Linked DNA regions of Homo sapiens: region 2 is linked to region 1. Evidence: promoter capture Hi-C in 16 types of primary human blood cells and fetal thymus (Javierre and others, 2016). All regions are on one chromosome and are shown on one strand. The core of a region is centred on a gene start or on the middle of the fragment in contact, and the rest is flanking DNA. Distances in the headings are between cores, read along the strand shown.

Region 1 (4,607 bases), core at 2,053-4,552:
GTCTATAAAGGAAAATTGACTTGCCTACAGTCCCAAAGCAAGTAAGCATTAAAGCTCTTATTCTAACTCAACTGCTGAGATTCTAATTACCTCATCCACTTAACAAATAGTTGAGTCTACCATGTGGCTGCCTTGAGTCTAAGTAGTGGATAATAAAGCGCAAAAGAGTGACAAACAATATAGGCCTTGTCTCTTCCCTTATGGAATTTATTCCATTGAGAATCTTCTTTAGAACTCCCCAAATGGGGGTGTGATGATTGGGGGTGATGCTTCAAACCCCTTTAGAAGCAATTTTGATGGAACTTTTTATTTCCAAACTATCTTAATGGCTTAGACTTCTCCTTCTCTCTTTATAACAATAATAATTCCTTAAATTTTAATGCTTTTTCAGGTTTTGACTTAATATTTTAACCTTAGATATTTCAGTATTCAACCGTAGATATTTTAAAAATATTTTTTCTCTTTCAAGACTCCTTCCGATATTTATTTTAGGTCCATGCAGAAAAGCCTGGGTTTTACAGGACTTGAGTGGGAGGAGATACAGCAGCAGCAGCAGGATTTGGATTCAGGCCTTGCAGCCTCCCAGGCTTGGTGCTGGGTAAATGAGGCCTTTTCTCTCTGCACTGACTCCAGATTTCTCCTTGCTGCTCTGGATCTCAACACATTTATTAACAGAGACTGCAATGCATAAACGGAAGGGTTGCCCATTAACGGAACACAGAAAGTACCTTGAATATTAATTGCCGGTAGAGGAACATGGCAGTCAGGGACAGTTCAATATGGCGGGGGCGGGGGGGTGGGTGTAATGGCTTTTAAAAACTGAACGTACAGCTTAAGTGAATAGACTCCTGTGGTCAATATTAACCAAGGAGATTGATCTAATAAGCATTTCAGAAGGTATTTTGGAAAATAATTCAGAATCCACCCTAAGTCAGCTGCATTTTATTCTTGGAATTTTTCCAGGTTTTCATCCTACCTTGTGTCTAGGAAAAGGTTGGTTTACAATATGGGAGGACTGGTATCTCTTTGGTCAAAGGACCACGTACTTAGCAAGCAGTTATCCCTTCCTGGGATCCCTCTACCAATAAGCAGCAATATTTGGCCAGAGTTCTAGACTTTAAACCAGTCACTTCACCTCACTGAGCCTCGGTTTCTTCATGTCTATATCTGCTATCTCTCTCTCTCTCTATCTAGTCATGCAATAATTAAATTAAGAAGTGAATGCAAAAAGAGTTTTATAAACTTTAGAACCACTGTTTTTTAAAAGCTCTAGAACAGTGGTTCTCAATCAGGGGAATGTTACCCTTCAGGGGACATTTGGCCACGTCTGGAGACATTTTTGACTGTTACAAATGGGAGGTGGTGGTGTTACTGGAATCTAGTGATTAGAGAGAGGCCAGGGAAACTGCTGAATATCTTACAATGCACAGGACAGCACTCCCTCTCCCCCACCACACCCTGCACCAAAGAACTGTCCAGCTCATAATGTCAGTAGTGCTGAGGCTGAAAAACCAGGCTCTGGAATTGTACAGATTTTACAGTTAAGCAGTTATGTGACCTTGAGGGGCACCACATCCTTCTGTTTCCAAATATGTAAGATCAGAACACTGCCTGTCATAGATTACAGGATATTGTGTTTGCTAAATTTGAGAGTATACACACATGTCAAAAGTCAAAAGAAAAACAAGTTAAAAAAGGCTGGATAAATATAATAGAAAGTGATGCTGGTCAGAAAGTCAATTAGTACATTACTGGATAGTAATGTACCAAGCTGACTGAGCCAGTTCTTATGAAACTAGCCACATCGTGTGTGTGTGATGGTCATCCAAAAAGGACAAGCTACACTATCCCCTTCTTTTTGTGTCACCAATCAAATTGCTGCTGTTACTCTTCAAGGTAAGCTAAAGTCCAGCAGAGCTGAAGCATTTTTCTCCTTTAATTCCTGTTTTCTCCTTTTTCCTCCTCTCTTCTCACATTTTCTCCCTCACTTCTTCTGAGTCTGCTCCCACTCACTCTGCTACTAGGAGTGGGGAAAGCCTGTGAACACCTCAGGTTGAGGAACAAAAATAGGAGAGAAAGAATGCTCTAAAATGAGGACAGAAACCTGTCTCCAGGCCTGACCATCTGCAAACTCACTGTTACTCCTGAATATTTTTCATATGACAAGTCTAAGCTAATATTTTGGCCCAAAGCACAAACCTGGTAGACAAGAGGATGATAGGATGTTTGTTGTGGGATTAAAGAGCATGAAAAATATTTCCATACTTTCCTATTGATGTTCTGTTTGATTCACCAAATATTTACATACATGTGTGAGGGGCCATGGTAAGGAGAGTGGACCAGAGGGGATGAAGATAGTTACTGTCCCAAGGGGCTTAGAGCTAGGTGAAGAGTGAGTGGTTGCCCAGCTAATTGTGCAATAATCAGCCAAGACTCAAGTGCTTTGAGGAGGGAGAGAAAGGAGGACTTAACTGGAATTAGGGTCTACAGCAAAGACTTCTGATAAGGGGTGAAAAAAGACATATGCATATACACAGATACACAAAGCCATTTGTATATATCAAATTTATAGTTTTATATTAAATATATATAAATACATACTCATATTTACATATACCATACTCCCTTTCAGTTGAACTACTGTTGAGGGATTAATTTATAAAGGCTTCAAAAGTTGTGGTTAAGATCTTTGGATTTAGTATCAAACAGACCTTGAGGGCACCACCTTGTCCTGCCAACACCTTGATTTTGGCCCAGTGAAACTGATTTGAGGCTTCTGGCCTCCAGAATTTTGAGAGAATAAACTTGTGTTGTTTTAAGGAAAAATAAATTTAGAAAATCTTTAGTGAGGCTATATTATTGGAAGTAGAATGTGGAAGACAATAAGTGATGGATGTTTTTATTTTTAATAATTAAATACATACAATCTTATATCCACATCATAATTTGTATTTATATGATGTAAATGTGTTAAAGAATTCAAGATGAATGTATGAACTTTAGATTCAGAAATATAAAGGGGTGAACTTTGATTCTGACCCCTAGATAGGCTATCTTGCTCAATATTCAGCTCCCTGAGCCTTAACTTCCTTATCTGTAAGATGGGCATAATAGCACCTATCTCATATGAATTAAAAGCTATAATATAACAGAGGGTTCTAGGATGAGTGTTACACACAGTACATTCTCTCTATACATTAGTTTTCTCCTTTTTTATCATTCCATCCTCCCTTCTCATACTTTCATTGGAATTTTGTTGACGCCTCTTCTTTAATCACCAGGCTAATTCAAGCTGGCCACAATGGAGAATAGCACAGAAGTGACAGAGTTTATCCTCTTGGGATTAACAGATGACCCCAATCTTCAGATACCCCTCCTCCTGGCATTTTTATTCATCTACCTCATCACCCTGCTTGGGAATGGGGGAATGATGGTGATCATCCACTCAGACTCCCATCTCCACACTCCAATGTACTTTTTCCTCAGTAACCTCTCCCTTGTAGACTTGGGTTACTCATCAGCTGTAGCCCCCAAAACGGTGGCTGCATTGCGGTCAGGGGACAAGGCCATCTCCTACGATGGATGTGCAGCTCAGTTCTTCTTCTTTGTGGGGTTTGCCACTGTTGAGTGCTACCTCCTGGCCTCCATGGCCTATGATCGCCATGCAGCGGTATGTAGGCCTCTTCATTACACCACCACCATGACAGCAGGTGTGTGTGCCCTCCTTGCTACTGGTTCCTATGTCTCTGGCTTCCTCAATGCCTCTATCCATGCAGCAGGCACCTTCAGACTCTCCTTCTGTGGTTCTAATGAGATTAATCATTTCTTCTGTGACATTCCCCCACTCCTGGCTCTCTCATGCTCTGACACACGCATCAGCAAGTTGGTGGTCTTTGTGGCAGGCTTCAACGTCTTTTTCACCCTCCTGGTCATCCTTATTTCTTACTTCTTCATATGCATCACCATTCAGAGGATGCATTCTGCTGAAGGGCAGAAGAAAGTCTTCTCCACCTGTGCTTCCCATCTCACTGCTTTGTCCATCTTCTATGGCACAATCATCTTCATGTACTTACAGCCCAACTCCAGCCAGTCCGTGGACACAGACAAAATAGCCTCTGTGTTTTACACAGTGGTGATTCCCATGCTGAATCCCTTGATATACAGCCTTAGGAACAAAGAAGTGAAAAGTGCTCTCTGGAAAATACTCAACAAACTTTACCCCCAATATTAAATGTGAATGGGAAGTAGGCAAGCAATTAAGGGATAAACTTTCTCTCACACCTAAATGCCATCATGACTTTTAACGTTTGACTGGTTTCAGTTCTTTCTTCCCCAAGAACAGCGGTTACTTCTGCTATTAGAAGATGTAAAAAGCAGCACGTTGAAAGTCTTACTTAGAAAGATAATCTTATATTTAGTGAACAACAACATGGGACAGTTAAGCTTTTCTTGCTTTAGTTTCTTGACGTGGTTTAAAGCAGAAGATTGAAGCATACAAATGAATGTACCAAATTTTCCTCATCCTGTTTTTAATTGTAAGAATTTTTCATTCACTATTAAACTTGGTGTAAAGATTTCACCTTCATTTTTATCAACTGAACACACAG
Region 2 (5,097 bases), core at 795-3,294, 1.1 Mb after region 1:
GGTCTCAATGGGAAATTGCCTTTCAGTTCTATTAAATACGCAGAAATTAATCTAAGCAAACAAGGAAACAAAAAGCCTTCCACAATCATGATAAATGCAGCCAGAAAGGTAAGATCTTCATAGGATCCAGAAAAATCCAGCACTGTCCAAAGGAGAGGACACCCAGATGGCTCCCTGCCTTGGATATTCTGATCCTTGGCAGGATGGAGGCTTTATAGAGGTATGTCAAGCTTCACCTATGTGTCAATCCATCAACTCCCTTCCCTCTGACTTTGTACTCAACAAAGAACCTTCTGGTATTGATTTCCTTTCCCAAAAGCCTGTCCTTCCTGAAAGAGATTGTGCTGACCAGTCAGCCTTAGGATTCCCATCTGCTGGGTGGTTTCATTTCTCAGTGTTAATTAATAAATTGCATTTCAGGTTTATCAATCAGTCTCTTATGAGTTTGTTTAGTGTGGGTCATTTCCCCTATACTTAATCACAACAACTAAGCTCCCAGGGAGGGGTAGGGGAGGGAACACCATTGGAGTAGTATAACAGAGATGTCCAAAGAATGGTATGAAAAGATATACTATCAGGCTGAAGAGGACACAGAGAGGACTTCTGTATGGGGAAGGGAACATCAAGACAGGATTCCTGGAGGCAGATCACATTGGCACAGGAAAAGAGGTACTTCAGCATAATGGTGAAAACATGGGCTCTGGATACTGGGAAGTCTATCTCTTCCCATTTACTGGCTGAGTGACTTGGCCAAGTTACTTCATCTCTTGAGGCCTCAGTTTCTTCATCTTTAAAGTTGGCATAATGATAGTACCTCCGCCTCCTTATGGGGTGGCTGTGGGCATCAAATAATAATATATATTACATATAGCTCTTAGCCCAATGCCTGTCCCAAAAGCAGCACTCAGTAAATGACTGTCATTACTGTTGTCATTATTAATACCCAAAAGGGTGCTTTCATTGAGAATTCTAGAAAGGCACACATTTGAGGCCTGCTGCCTCCCTGATGCCCCTGAGGCAATTTTGTCTTAAAAGGAATAAGGATTGAGTCTGTGTTTGCTTTAAGACCTGGAGGGCAGAATGCTTTTTGCAGATAGGGCTCTTTCCTTGAGAGTGGTCACAGCCCATCTTGCGGTTTTGCAGCCCACGAGGAGAGCTGCATGTACAATCTATAAGAACCCATCAGCCCCGGGAACTTCCGTGGTTTCTGAGTCACTCTCAGGCCACTTCAGCTTCCAAGCAGAGGCTCCCAGGGCGGACTCACCATATAGGCCTTTTCTGCCCTCTCCCGTGCAGCATCTGGAGGAACATTGCAGCACCCCACGACAGATCCCTGCTTAATGTCAGCCTCTGTACAGAGTCCCAGCATTTCAGCAAGTCAGGGCTAAGAGAGGTTCAGCACTCGCTTCACAGAGGTAGGAATGGAGGCCCCAAGAGAGAAAGGTGCCCGGGGCAGCCCACCCAGGGGGCTCCAGAGCCAGGACTGGACCCTGGGTCTCCCACTTCCTTGTCCAGTGCTCTGTCTACAGTCCGCAGTGGAGCCTTCCCTAATTTCACCACAGACTTGCTTCTGGTCTAATGCCATGCCTTGAGTATCATCTGGGGTTCCCATCCTACATGTGCTCTCCTGGCAAGTGGAGGTTCCCCTCCACCCCAGCTTCTCCTTCTCCCTCCAGCTAATCCCTACCCACTTCCCCATCCTCCAGCACCATGGAAACTGTTCCAGTCTCTTCCGGCTTCCCTTTGCCTTTTTCCACAACAAAAGTCCAGTGTTCAATCGGCCCCAGCAGTTTCCTGCTCTTTTCATCTTTGGGGTGTTGGGCAAAGCTCTCAATGTGAAAAACCCCGTTGTTTTCACTCAGGAGTCGTCTCCTTCTCCTGGATCCATTTCCTCTTTTCATGATCATGCGTGTGGGTGGGTGTGGTGTCTGTGTGAGCAGGGCAGGGAGACACAGAATCACAGAGAGGCAGCACTACTCTCTTGTTTTAATCAAGGGTGCTGTCTGAAAGAATTACCCATCTTCATTCCTATTAGTAATAACTGGTACCCCCATCAACCCGATTCCAGAACTCATGCTCTGTGTAGCTCTTGGGAAGCCTCCCAGGAAGGCTGGGTAGGGCACAGATTAAGAGCATCAGCTGGCTGGGCATGGTGGCTCACGCCTGTAATCCTAGCACTTTGTGGGGCCAAGGCAGGCAGAACACTTGAGCCCAGGAGTTTGAGACCAGTCTGGCCAACATGGCGAAACCCCATCTCTACAAAAAATGCAAAAAAATTAGCTGGGCATGGTGGTGCACGCCTGTAATCCCAGCTACTCGGGAGGCTGAGGCAGGAGAATCACTTGAACCTGGGAAGTGGAGGCTGCAGTGAACTGAGATCACACCATTTCACTCCAGCCTTGGTGACAGAGTGAGATGCTGTCTCAAAAAAAAAAAAAAAAAAAAAAAAAAAAGCATTAGTTTCAGTCAGAGCATCAGGTTTCTATCCCAGTCCTGACACTGCTACCTGGTGATGTTGGGGGAGTTGCTTCGTCCCTCTAGGCCTCAGTTGGCCCAGATAATAGATGCTAATAACAACACCTATCGTGAGATTCAGTGACAGATTAAGCAAAAAGCGCTTCGAATCAGATACATAGTCAGTGCTCAGTGCCCAGCAGGTATTATTGATATTCCTTATTTTTCTTCTCAGGGGTAGGACGTGCCTCCATGTTGACACAGTGTTCCCCAGCCTAGTCCTTAGAGTTGCAGGTTTAGATATTGTCAGTGCACTGAGGCATTCCTTTCTAGCAAAGTCTATCGGGAAGTGCAGTTACCAGTAAACAGTTGCTTGATGAACATAGAAGTGGAGCTGGGGCTTGGGAGGGTGGGTAGCAGTAGCCTCATAAGCCCTGGTGTGGTGGGGCTTGGGGCTCTGCTTTCTCTTAGGCCTGGCCCAGTGCTTCCAGTATCTGGTCTGGTGGGGGAGCTCTGTTTTCTGCATGGTGAAAGGGAGGCTGATCCAGGCTGATCCTCTGCTGCCTCTAGCATCCACTGAAGCTGAGCTGGCTGCTCTGAGGGGCCAGAGTGGCCCCCACCCTCCAGTGCCTCTTTGGGTATCCTTTCAGATTCACCTCTGTTAAAGAGAAAGGTCTCCCCAGAGCAAGGAGGCCTCATATTTACTTGGCTATGTAGTAGTTCCCCACCCTCCTGAGAACTGCTTTGAACACACTAGGAGATACCCTGAAGAGCCAGCTCTAAGACTCCATCCCCTTCCTGTCTACTGTGGCTCATGAACAGACTTCCCACAGCTTACAGGACAATCCAAGCCCCTGCCTTAAGCCCAGACAGTCTTGGGGGGTTGTACTGAGTGCATTTGGGTGTCATCTAGAGATCAGTTCTCTAGGGTGGGACTTCTTAAGCAAGGTAAACTGAGCTCACCCATTACTTAGTGGTTTTCCCCCTAATTTATTTCTTTTTTAGGTTAGGAACACTTTGAAATTCTCCCTAAATGTGACTTTATTTCCTCTTTGTTTTCCAGTAAGTCAATAATATTTGTTAACAACAGTAGCTGCTATTTATTAATAGTGTACTAATTGGGCAGTTTTCATACATTATCTTTAATCCATACAGCTCGATTCCAATTTTATAGATGAGGAGACGGAAGCTCAGAGATACCAGTAATTGGCTCGATAGCAGTGTGCTTGTATTATTTTTGGCACTGCCTCAAGAGGATTAGAATTTTCTCTGCAGGTGAAATGATGTTTGCATTTACCTTTTGCTTTCTGACTTCCAAAACAGGCTGTAGAAACCCCTTTCAAGACCGTAGGTGGAAAACCAAACATTTTAATTTACATGAGCCCATTGTGAAAGGAAAGCTTATGTTTGTTTGTTTATGTGTTTGGCGTATCCGAAATCAAAGCCCTTTATGTGAATGGCTCAGAGTTTATCTACATATACAAATTTAGAAAGTGATGTCAGAGGGTAGGAGAGAATATCTGGACTCTGCCCAGAGAGTGGCAATTGCCCTCGCTGAGGTTGTTCAGAGGAAGTTTGAGGAGAGAGGTCTGTGGACAGGCAGGGACTGCATTGGAAGGTGGTGCTCTTGAGGACTAGAGGATACTAGCCATTGTTTGTGCCAGGGGAATGATGGAGTGCAGCTCACTTATACTGCCCTCTTTGGCAAACCCTCTTTCCCTAACCTAAACATATCCATCTTCCCACTCTGTCCATAAAAACATCCATAGGGTGGATCCTGGATATCCAGACTTGCTGATGATGGGAAGGAAAACCACCTCCAGCATTGGTACTTGGGCAGTAGGATGCAGGAGATCCAGTTCTATGCTCCCTCTTCCCCTCAAAGCAATGTCTCATGGCTGGCATCCCCAGACCCTGGACTGGTCCTTACCAGCCAGTTGACTGGACCTCAGAAGGGTTTTGAGCAGTTAAGTGAAGCCATCCAGTGGGAACCATGGAAATAAACTCTTGCAGGAGAATGGCGATGGCTTGGAAGCAGATGATGCCTCTGTGAGAGATGATGAGTGTCTGCATAGAGCAGTGGCCACGGATAGATAGGAGAGATATTAAGGGGTGAAATCAATAGGACATGATTGATTGATGTGGGCTGAATTCTTAATGCCCTCACTTAGATGGCGACGCTGGCCTCAAATCTTTCCACTTTCTTCACCACCCTGTGCTCTAGCTGGTTCCTAAATGTTATTGTTTTGTTGAGGTTCCGTGCCTTTCAATGTGCTGTGCTAGCATCTGCCTGGAAGACCATTCCCACACTCCAGAAATCTTGGGTTTCTTTGTCTGTCTCTCCCACAAGAGAATGAGCCCCTTGAGAGCAGGCACTGAATCTCTTCTCTACGAATCCCGGCACTTGGCACAGAGCCTGAGGTACCACATGTATTTGTTGAACCAATCAGTCAATTAAAAAAAAAAAGGTGTGAGATGATGAGGAAGGAGGCGAAGAGAAAAGGATGAAGACATCGGGTGCACCGTCAGACCTTATTATAATCACTTCTCTCTCTGATGTTACTCATTAATCCTCATTGGAGCCACGCAGGAGAGTGATCAGAATAGCATCTGCCTTTTCTAGCTGCTGGAATTCGAACCAAA

The links. Contacts are between HindIII fragments. The CHiCAGO score rates a contact against its expected background, and 5 or more counts as called.
Region 2: a fragment that was not itself captured here is called in contact with the fragment with the promoter of OR5B21 in region 1 in 1 of 17 cell types (total B cells); the score reaches 5.4 in total B cells.

The regions. Positions count from the first base shown.
Region 1 is chr11:58,506,800-58,511,406 of GRCh38, reverse strand. OR5B21 (olfactory receptor family 5 subfamily B member 21) reads left to right here and starts at 3,302. Exons shown (of 1, transcript NM_001005218.3): 1 at 3,302-4,600. The coding sequence starts at 3,302. The coding sequence ends at 4,231. All of the region lies in intron 2 of LOC105369313 (a long non-coding RNA gene), which reads left to right. The HindIII fragment of the contact is 6,996 bases long and covers 1-4,445 here.
Region 2 is chr11:57,429,012-57,434,108 of GRCh38, reverse strand. No RefSeq gene overlaps it. Among named protein-coding and RNA genes, the nearest start is that of SLC43A3, 4.4 kb to the right of the region's middle. The HindIII fragment of the contact is 3,624 bases long and covers 233-3,856 here.